Regions from separate parts of the Homo sapiens genome. Here all the other regions are linked to region 2. The links are contacts of gene promoters, found by promoter capture Hi-C in human tissues and cell types (Jung and others, 2019). All regions are on one chromosome and are shown on one strand. Each heading gives the region's core, a stretch centred on a gene start or on the middle of the fragment in contact. The rest is flanking DNA. Distances are from core to core; before and after follow the strand shown.

Region 1 (3,648 bases), core at 465-2,964, 180 kb after region 2:
TGAGATGAGGTCTCACTATGTTGCCCAGGCTGGCCTTGAACTCCTGGCCTCAAGCATTCCTCCCACTTCAGCCTCCCAAAGTGCTAGGATACAGGCATAAGCCACCATGCCCAGCCTCTTCTTAAATTTATAGAATAGAACACTCCTTATTACTTTTCTCCCTTCCTCAACTCTTAAAAGCAAAGGAGCCTTTTCTATGCAAAATATCTAGAATACCTCAGAATATTACCTACTTATATCTGACAGACTGTCAGACCAATAACTAATTCTAGGACTGATTCCACAAACCAGATTACCACTCTGCCTTAGGCAACTTCATGCTGCCAACACATAGAATACCAACTCCTGCGACTCAGTCTCCTTTTCTTGCCTCTGAACATACCTTGTCTATTTAGGTCTATTTAAATACACAACTACAAGAGATACTCAGAGCATAAGCAGTATTACTAGAGATCAATGAGGTAAGTTATTCGTATGCCCTTGCAATTAGCTTCACACTGGTTTAAAATAATTAAATAATTTCTTTGAAGTTCTGGGTTGTAACTCCCTTTCCACTCACTAGCTTCCTTTAAAGCAATATTTGTCCCTACTCAATAGCTGATCTATTCCTAACCCAAGGAAGAAACTGAATCCTCCTCAGGTCCGCTGGTGCCCAAAAATGCCTATTAAAGCTTCTGGTTCAATTACTAGGTTTCAAGTCAAAATTGCTCTCTTTAAAATTAGTAGCTCTGAATTTTGCCTATTGAGACTTCCTGAGTAGCTTTTTTCTTTGCTGTTCTACGCTTTTCATCCATGATCTTAAAATTGGCCTCCTTGTCCTCACAAGTGGCTCCTCCTGTCTGTCCTTATTCTACTTTATTATCCATATTTTTCATGGAAGTGAATTATCCTGGATCTTCTATTCTCAGTAATCTCATTCTGGAGTCTCCTTGCTTTAACTTAGATTTCTTTCTTTTCTTTTCTTCCTTCCTTCCTTCTTTCTTTTCTTTTCCTTTCCTTTTTCTTTCTCTCTTTCTCTCTCTCTCTCCCCCCCTCCCTCCTTTCTCTCTTTCTCTCTCTCTCTCTTTTTTTTAAAGACAGGTTCTCACTCTGTCACCCAGGTCGGAGTGCAGTGGTGCAATCATGGTTCACTGTAGCCTCAACCTCCCAGGCTTAATCAATCCTCCAGCCTCAGCCTCCCGAGTAGCTGGGACTACAGACACATATCATCACACCTGGCTAATATTTGTATTTTTTGTAGAGATGGGGTCTCGCTGTGTTGGCCAGGCTGGAGATTTTCTAAAAGCTTAGTTAAACCCAAATATAACTTCATATCATAAGGAAAAGACAGAGTTCCAAATTTATCACTGGGCATTTCTTCTTTTCACTATCCCAACTTTCCCAGCCTAACCCAGCCCTCACCCTTCTCCCCTCCATTCCAGGCAAGTTTCCAAGTCAATGGTAGAACATCACAAGTTAACTGTACTTGTAACTTTTCCAATTTCACTCAAGCTAGTCATATACCTAAATTCCTACAATTCTGATCAAAGTTTTGGAAGTTCTTTTGTCTCAGAACTTAAGTGACTAGGAAAAGATCATTAAGTAAATAATAAAGTTCAACCAAAATACAAATGCCCTAACAAAGATAGAAAAGGAAATGATAGTTCTGTCCAATAGTCAACTTTTATATTCCAGGCTCACTTTCCTAAATAGTGTTAAGTATTCTTCCTGAAAAACCCAAAAAGTATATTTAATTTAACATTTTACCAACTTTTGTGAAACAACTGAAGTACAATAAAACTGCATATACTTAGACTGGGTGTGGTGACTCACACCTGTAATCCCAGCACTTTGGGAGGCCAAGGCAGGCGGACTGCTTGAGTCCAGGAGTTCAAGACCAGCCTGGGGAACATGGCAAAACCCTATCTCTACAAAAAAATACAAGTTAGCCAGGCATAGTGGCATGCACTTGTAGTCCCAGCTTCTCAGGAGGCTGAGGCTGGAGGATCACTTGAGCCTGGGGAGGTCAATGCTGCAGTGAGCTGTGATCATGCCACTGTACTCCAGCCTGGCCACCAGAGTAAGACCCCATCTCAAAAAAAAATAAAATAAACTTTAATATTAAAAAATCTGCACACATTTAAAGTATACAATTGAGGTCAGGCACAGTGGCTCACACCTGTAAACCTAGCACTTTGGGAGGCCAAGGTGGGAGGATTGCTTGAGTCCAGGAGTTCAAGACCAGCCTGGGGAACACAGCAAAACAAAAAAATACAAGTTAGCCAGGCATAGTGGCATGCACTTGTAGTCCCAGCTTCTCAGGAGGCTGAGGCTGGAGGATCACTTGAGCTTGGGGAGGTCAACGCTGCAGTGAGCTGTGATCATGCCACTGTACTCCAGCCTGGCCACCAGAGTAAGACCCCATCTCAAAAAAAAATAAAATAAACTTTAATATTAAAAAATCTGCACACATTTAAAGTATACAATTGAGGTCAGGCACAGTGGCTCACACCTGTAAACCTAGCACTTTGGGAGGCCAAGGTGGGAGGATTGCTTGAGCTCAGGAGTTCAAGATCAGTTTTGGCAACATAGCGAAACCCCATCTCTACAAAACAAAAATAAAATAAAATACAAAAAATTAGCTGGGCATGGTGGTGCATGCCTGTAGTCCCAGATACTCGGGAGGCTGAGGCACGAGACTCGCTTGAACCTGGGAGGTGGAGGTTGAGGTGAGCAGAGATCACGCCACTCCAGCCTGGGTGACAGAGCGAGATGCTGTCTCAAGAAAGAAAAAAGTGTACAGTCAATCGGTTTTGTCATGCATATATACCAATCACTAAACACAATGAAGAAAACAAAAACCAAACATTTCTATCGCCTCAAAAGTTTACTCTGGGCCGGACGCGGTGGCTCAAGCCTGTAATCCCAGCACTTTGGGAGGCTGAGGCGGGTGGATCACCTGAGGTCAGGAGTTTGAGACCAGCCTGGCCAACATAGTGAAACCACGACTCTACTAAAAATAAAAAAATTAGCTGGGCGTGGTGGTGGGCGCCTGTGATCCCAGCTACTCGGGAAGCTGAAGCAGGAGAATCGCTTGAACCCAGGAGGCGGAGACTGCAGTGAGCCAAGATCATGCCATTGCACTCCAGCCTGGGCAACAAGAGAGAAACTCTGTCTTAAAAAAAAAGTTTACTCTGCCCCTATATAACCTATGCTTTCCCTTTTCTCCTGCACCAATATCGGCACCCAGTCTCCAGGCAAGCTTCCTTTCACAATAGATTAGTTTGCATTTCCTGGAATTTTATATGAATGTAATCTTAAACATGCATGCTATTTTTTCCTGGCTTAATTTATTCAGCATAATGCTTCTGAGATTCATTCATGTTGTTGCATATACCAATAGAGCTTCCTTTTTATCACTGAATCATCTAATAAAATTTTACAAAGAAGTAAAAAGAAAATCCTCATTGTGAAAACATCTTACTCTATGTATAGTACACAGAACTTACATTTTCAAGATATTTCTATTTTGAAAGAGAGAATGTCAAAGAAAGACTACTCAATGAAAAAAAATTACTGGTATCATAATCTTTAAGGAAAAATAAAAACAAATTAAAGACTTCAATTACAGTTGACCCTTGAACAACACAGAAGCTGGGGCACAACTCC
Region 2 (3,604 bases), core at 803-3,302:
TCGCTGGGACATGTCAGCACTCATTCCAGCTCTAACGACCCTAAATCAGGCCTTGTCCCCTACAGGTAAGCAGGGCCCCAGGTAGTCTAAATAGTGACAGGTGACTGGTTTATGGCAGGCCAGGACTGGGGTCAGGGCTGGAGATAAGGCTGAGAATGTTAAGACCAGGAACAGGAAGAGAGGGCCACTCACCCTGTGTAACCTTGAAGTTAGAGATGGCAGATGGAGCAGGAACCAGTCCACCACCCCATCGCCAATGTGCAGGCTCTGTGGTGCCCATAATTAAGATGCACCCATAAGAGAGTGTATAGCTTTACCCCTCCCGCATTCCTCAGAGGGGATGCCCTACCAGGGACTCGTTCTCCTCACCCATCTTTATGGTCCCAAAATGCACCCAGGGCCCCCCTCTCTCCTGGGGGGCCTGAATGCAATGAACTTTAAAGTGGATCATTGATCAACAGTCCCTTAACCCCACCAAAGTTTCCCAAGCCTCTCCCCTGCTCATCAGGGGGCTGGCCAGAGGTCACAGGGACTCCCTGGGGGTGGTTTTTATTCCCAGGAACAGGCTTCCTCAGTCCTGAAAGGGACATTTTTATAGCCCTGTGAACACAAATGCACTCCCCAGAATAGGCTCTGGGTGTGGAATCCCTCCTGTGGCTGTCATGGTCGCAGGCTGGTGATTACATTATACAGTGGTGTTGACAATAGAGCCCTAAGCCTGGCATGGACACCCCCTCACCTCCCTCCTGCCTCTCTGTAGGATCAAAGCTGCTCTGTGAGGCTGTGTGATCCTGGGCCAGGAGCGGGGAGTCAGCCTCAACCCTAAGCAAGGAGGAAGCATCTTTGCCTGAATCCTTCTGGGGGAGGCAATCCCCCTTCAGAAGTCCCTAGCCCAGGTTCGAAGGTCGGTAGGGACTGAGAGGTTGGCAGCGGATGGGGAGTGGCTAAACCAGAAAAAGGGGGCTTCCTGTTGATGGATTGATGGAGGAGGTCCAGGTCCACTGCCTGGTTCCCCGTCCCTCTCCCGCACCCCAGCCTGAGCTTCCCAAACTCCCACAGAAGCCCCCACCCCATGTGGGACACAGAGGACCTGCAGTAGCAGGAGGGCACAGCTAAGAGAGGAGACAAGAGGCAGCTTGGGGGCATGGGGGGGACCCCATTTCCCCAAATGTTGGAGCCGCCCTTAAGGGAACTTCCCCTGGACTCCTCTGGAGGTCTTGCCAGATGGGAGAACCAGGGGTCCATTCAGACCCCAGTCTCTTCTCTTCCCATCTCATCTCTCCACCTGGGGGGCTCAAAGAACCTAGCTCCTCCCCTTTGACCCCATCAGCTTCTCCCTCACCGAATCCTCTTACAATCCATTTCTTAATTCTGCCCCATCAACCCTCCCTGGTCATCACATAAACACCAGCAAGGGCAGTAGTTTAGGGACAGCTTTGCTCTGTATTCGAAGAAAGGTCTTTGGTCTGCTTAGAAATTAAGTTTGGAGCAGCCTGGGAGGAAATAGAAGAGATGAGACCCAGAGAATCAATGGCCACTGCCAAAGAGAGATAGGAGAGCCTTTCTGCGGCCACTGATTCAACAAACGGCATCACACGCCCCTCAGCCTCTCATCTCTTCGAGGCCATCTCCACCCCCACCCCCACCCCCACCCCAAGGCCATTCCAAGGTCCCATTCAAGACCACTGCGCAGGGGTGGCGCCAGAATGATCAAAGTCATCATGGGGCACTCATCTTTGTGTGGGTCAAGCACTTTGTGGTGTCGTGTCCCTGTTCCCAAACCAGGGACCAGGAGTAGGATGGGGGAGGGGCAGGGCGCCGCTGCTGAGTGGAGAGGACGCGGAGTGGGTGAGGGGGCCTTGCGCACAGGGCAAGAGGTGGCCAGGCAGGGCGGGGGACCGGGGAGAGCGGAGGATTTCAGATGAGGGACAGGGGAAGGTGGAGAGGGGAGGGCAGGCCCCGCCAGGGGGAGGAGCCGCCTCCCGCGTCCAGCTGTCGGGGCTCCCTCCCGTCGCGGCTCCGCTATAAAACCCAGGCCGGCAGGATCGCTGCACCCGCGGCGGCCTCCTCGGTGCGCGACCCCCGGCTCAGAGGACTCTTTGCTGTCCCGCAAGATGCGGATGCTGCTGGCGCTCCTGGCCCTCTCCGCGGCGCGGCCATCGGCCAGTGCAGGTGAGCTCCCGGGCTCCGGCCCCAGGTGCCCCTCGGCGGTCCCCTCCGTGCCCCCAGCTCCCGCCCCTGCAGAGGATCCCCCCGCGGGCGACCGGTGAGCGTCGGTGGCGCTGGGGTCCCGGGTTGCGTGTGCGCCGGGGGCCGCGAGGGTGCGGGAGGACTGGGCAGCGCGCGAGCTTGTGTGTGCACACGCGTGTCAGCACCGGCTGGGGGAGCGTGTGCACGGGTGTGCGCGGTGAGGGTGTGTGCGCGTGGCCCGGCGAGACGAGTTGGGAGTCCCTGATAAGGATGCGTCTCAGGCCGGGCGCGGGTGCTCCAGCCTGAAATGCCAGCACGTTGGGAGGCAGAGGCGGGTGGATCACCTGAGCCCAGGAGTTCGAGACCAGCATGGCCAACATGGTGAAATCCCATCTCTACCAAAAATACAAACATTAGCCGGACGTGGTGGCACACGCCTGTAATCCCAGCTACTCGGGAGGCTGAGGCCCGAGAATCGCTTGAACCCAGGAGGTGGAGGTTGCAGTGAGATCACGCCACTGCACTCCAGCCTGGTGCTCCGTTTAAAAAAAAAAAAAAAAAAAAAAAAAAAAAAAAAAAAGGATGCTTCTCGGACCCGCCTCAACGCACGCCTTCTTTTCTCACCCAGCCTCCTCCGTCTGCCCGTGGGTTTCCGTCCGTCCCGCTGGGACTCAGCGCTGGGTGACTGCCCCGCGGCCAGAGCAAGGGCGGTCTGGCAGGGTCCTGGAAGCCGCGCTTCCCACACGGGTTCCTTGCCCCTGAGGGTCGCAAGCTCCCCTGGCCTCCCTAACCTCCAGCGCTGAATTGGGAGCCTGGCGGGGGCGGGGGGTGGGGGACCCGGAGCCCCAAGGCCTCTGCGGAGCCGGTCTTTCCGGACAGGGTGATTTTCGTTTAAAGATTAATGGTGAAGCCGAGCTCTTAATTATTCCTCTAGGTGGGAGGTGGCAGGAAAGGCATGTTAATATTTGATAAGAAGCTAAAGGCGCTTCAAGCGGCTGGGCACAGGGATCCGATCCTGGAGGCACCTTCTTTGCAACCCCAGACCCCATCACCGGAAGACCCCCTCTGCCAGTTCTCAGCCCAACCACCCCTCGGATGGTTCTTGGGGTCCACGCAGGCTGAAACCTCCTCTCCCAAGTTAGGTGCTCCATCCTCAAAGCGGCGGAGTGAGGGGTGAAGGTGTCCTCTGCACAGAGAGGAGCCAGCGTGTGCCCTTTGCAGCAGGGACTGGCTGAGCTGTCTTAGAGGGTCGAGGGGCACCTTGCAGCCTCTCCACCGGGCCCCTGGGAGAAGAAAGAGAAAAAGCAGAATGTGGAAACTTTTATTTGTAGGGTTGGACATTGGAAACCTACTAAGCAGCTAGAAAGTAGAAAGAGAAATGCTTTGCAGTTCTGGTGCTTTGTAGCTGTGTGGT
Region 3 (3,283 bases), core at 240-2,739, 220 kb after region 2:
CACCCTCCTTAGTAGCTGGGACCATAGGTCCATGCCACCATGCCCAGCTAATTTTTTGTTTTTTTCAGGGTTTTTTGGTGGAGATGGAGTCTCCCTACGTTGCCCAGGCTAGTCTCAAACACCTGGGCTCAAGCAATCCTCCCACCTCAGCCTCCCAAAATGCTGAGATTATACACGTGAGCCACTGTGCCTGAATAGGTATAATTTCATAAAATTCTTGTAATTTATCAACTCTGTGTTGGTTCCTTTGTTTTTGGGAGAAGGAAGGAGGAAGGGAGGGAGAAAGAAGGAAGTGTTGGGGGGGCACCTTACAGACAAGGTTACAAGTTTTCAGCTTCCCTAAAGTAATCAGTGATGATTCTCGTGCACTATTATTCCCCCAAAACATGCTTAATCTGTTCAGGCTGCTACAACAAAATATCTCAGATTAGATAATTTATAAACCAGGGAAATTTACTGCTCACAGCTCTGGAACCTGAGAAGTCCAAGATCAAAGTACCAGCAGATTCAGTGTCTGGTGAGAGCCTTTTCCTCATAAATGGTACCTTCTGTGTCCTGACATGGTGGGGCAAAGCAAGTTCTCTCAGGCCTCTTTTAGAAGGGCACTAATCCCATTCATGAGGGCAGAGCCCTCATGAAGTAATCATTCCTGAAGGCCCCACTTCTTCATACAATCACATTGGGAATTAGGTTTCAACATATGAATTTGGTGGTATAAGGGAACAAACACTCAGATCACAGCACCTGCTAAGCCAATCATATTTATTTGGTTTTTGAGGGGTTGTCTGTTTGTTTCAGACAGAAGCTCACTCCATCACCCAGGCTAGAGTGCGGTGGCGCGATGTCCACTCACCGCAACCTTTGCCTCCCAAGTTCAAGTAACTTTCGTGCCTCAGCCTCCCAAGTAGCTCAGATAGGTGCGCGCCACCATGCCTGGCTAATTTTTCTATTTTTAGTAGAGACAGGGTTTCACCATGTTGGCCAGACTGGTCTCAAACTCCTGGCCTCAAGTGATCTGCCTGCCTTGCCTCCCAAAGTGCCGGGATTATGGGCGAGAGCCACCACACTCAGCAGCCCAAGCCAATCATATTTAACATTCATGAATTTACAATCATTTACTATGTCCATTCTATTTCACTTTTATTAGCAGTCTTTTACAACATAATAAAGGCCAACATAATTTATCCATAATTTATCCATAAATTCCATTGTTCACTAATGTTTGTGAAGAAACAAAAACCTAATCCTCTAATGAGATTCATCTTCTATATACAAGTCAAACCTTATATTTTAGACCCAAATTTTATATTTGTAAAGAAAGCCACAAATAACAACATGGATTTACATCTTCATCAAATGATTACAAAAAGGTCAGATGTTATACATTACTACTAGTACTATCTAAACCCATAATACTCAAGTTGAAAGTAAATTCCTTATGCCTTTTAGTTAAGAAATCATGTTATTTCAAAAAGGGAAAGTTTTTTTTAAATGAAGAAAATGTTCATTGTTTTCCAGTCTTCATTATCAACTAAGCTCTATTCAGTTAATCTGATTTCATAAATAAGCTTATTTCTTTAAAAATGACCATGTTTTAGCCGGGTGCGGTGGCTCATACCTGTAATCCCAGTACTTTGGGAGGCCGAGGCGGGTGGATCATGAGGTTAGGAGTTAGAGACCAGCCTGGCCAACGTGGTGAAACCTTGTCTCTAATGAAAAAATATAAAAATTAGCCAGGCATGGTGGCACGTGCCTGTAATCCCAGCTACTCAGGAGGCTGAGGTAGGATAATCGCTTGAACACAGAAGGTGAAGGTTGCAGTGAGCCAAGATCAGGCCACTTGCAATCCAGCCTGGGTGACAGAGCGAGACTCCATCTCAAAAAATAAATAAATAAATAAATAAATAAAATATAAATGACCATGTTTTAAAGTTGAATTTAACTTTCAAGGAATTAATCTGTAACTAAAGAATTATCTTCCCTGTAAGCATTCACTCAGTATTTCCCCAAGGAACTCTTGTCCTCCTTAAGTACAAAACTTTTATTACTTTTTTCATTAGTCTATATTGTGACTTCATGGTAATAGTTACGAAGTTGTCAGAAACAAAGTAATTATTAAAAGAATGCATTAAGATAAACCATTTTTATAAATAAAATTTTGTATGTAATTTTATTAAAATACCAAAAATAATGCCCAGAACAAATATATAAGAGAAAAACCAGAATAAATCTACCAAAGAGTTTGGCCTTGAATACAAACTTCTGCAAAGTGTCAACTCCAAACTGACATGAGAAATTAATCCATTTGGAGGGCTATGTGGGGTTTTTCGGTTCATTTTTGGTTTAGAGAGAGGGTCTCGCTCCCTTTTTCTTGTTGTTGTTGTTGTTTTTTGAGACGGAGTTTCGCTCTTGTTGCCCAGGCTGGAGTGCAATGGCGCGATCTCGGCTCACCGCAACCTCTGCCTCCCAGGTTCAAGAGATTCACCTGACTCAGCCTCTCCAGTAGCTGGGATTACAGGCATGTGACACCACGCCGGGCTAAGTTTTTTTTCTTTTTTCTTTTTTCTTTTTTTTGAGACGGAGTCTTGCTCTGTCGCCTAGGCTGGAGTGCAGTGGCGCGATCTCGGCTCACTGAAACCTCTGCCTCAGGAGTTCAAGCGATTCTCCTGCCTCAGCCTCCCAAGTAGCTGGGATTACAGACACATGCCACCAGGCCCAGCTAATTTTTGTATTTTCAGTAGAGACGGGGTTTCACTATGTTGGCCAGGCTGGTCTTGAACTCCTGACCTCGTGATCTACCTGCCTCGGCCTCCCAAAGTGCTGGGATTACAGGCATGAGCCACAGTAGAGACGGGGTTTCTCCATGTTGGTCAGGCTGGTCTCGAACTTCCAACCTCAGGTGATCCACCCACCTCAGCCTACCAAAGTGCTAGGGTTACAGGTGTGAGCCACTGCACCCAGCCCGCCATTTTTTAATGGTAATAGTTCTTGGACTATGACATTTAGAACTAAAATAAGCCAGGTGCTGTGGCCCAGACCTGTAATCCTAGATAGTCAGGAGGCTGAGGCAGGAGGATCACTTGAGCCCAAGAGCTTGAGACCATCCTGGGAAACACAGCAAGACATCGTCTCAAAAAAAAGTTGGTTTTTTTTTTTTCATGCTGCTTTTCTTGAAGAAACAGAGACACGCTATTACTAAAGTATATAAAGATTTTAAGCCCACTCTTTTTTTTCTTTTGAGAGGGAGTCTTGCTCTGTCACCCAGGCTGGAGTGCCAGGGTGC

Evidence for each region. Contacts are between HindIII fragments. The study calls those that stand out against the background at their distance.
Region 1: a fragment that was not itself captured here is called in contact with the fragment with the promoter of CA4 in region 2 in 2 of the 25 tissues and cell types used here (bladder and mesenchymal stem cells).
Region 3: a fragment that was not itself captured here is called in contact with the fragment with the promoter of CA4 in region 2 in 2 of the 25 tissues and cell types used here (dorsolateral prefrontal cortex and stomach).

Annotation. Positions count from the first base shown.
Region 1 is chr17:60,329,492-60,333,139 of GRCh38, forward strand. All of the region lies in intron 2 of USP32 (ubiquitin specific peptidase 32), which reads right to left. Among named protein-coding and RNA genes, the nearest start is that of USP32, 61 kb to the right of the region's middle. The HindIII fragment of the contact is 3,504 bases long and covers 1-3,466 here.
Region 2 is chr17:60,147,921-60,151,524 of GRCh38, forward strand. CA4 (carbonic anhydrase 4) reads left to right here and starts at 2,053. Exons shown (of 8, transcript NM_000717.5): 1 at 2,053-2,172. The coding sequence starts at 2,115. The HindIII fragment of the contact is 35,208 bases long and covers 1-3,604 here.
Region 3 is chr17:60,363,603-60,366,885 of GRCh38, forward strand. All of the region lies in intron 1 of USP32 (ubiquitin specific peptidase 32), which reads right to left. Among named protein-coding and RNA genes, the nearest start is that of USP32, 27 kb to the right of the region's middle. The HindIII fragment of the contact is 8,897 bases long and covers 1-3,283 here.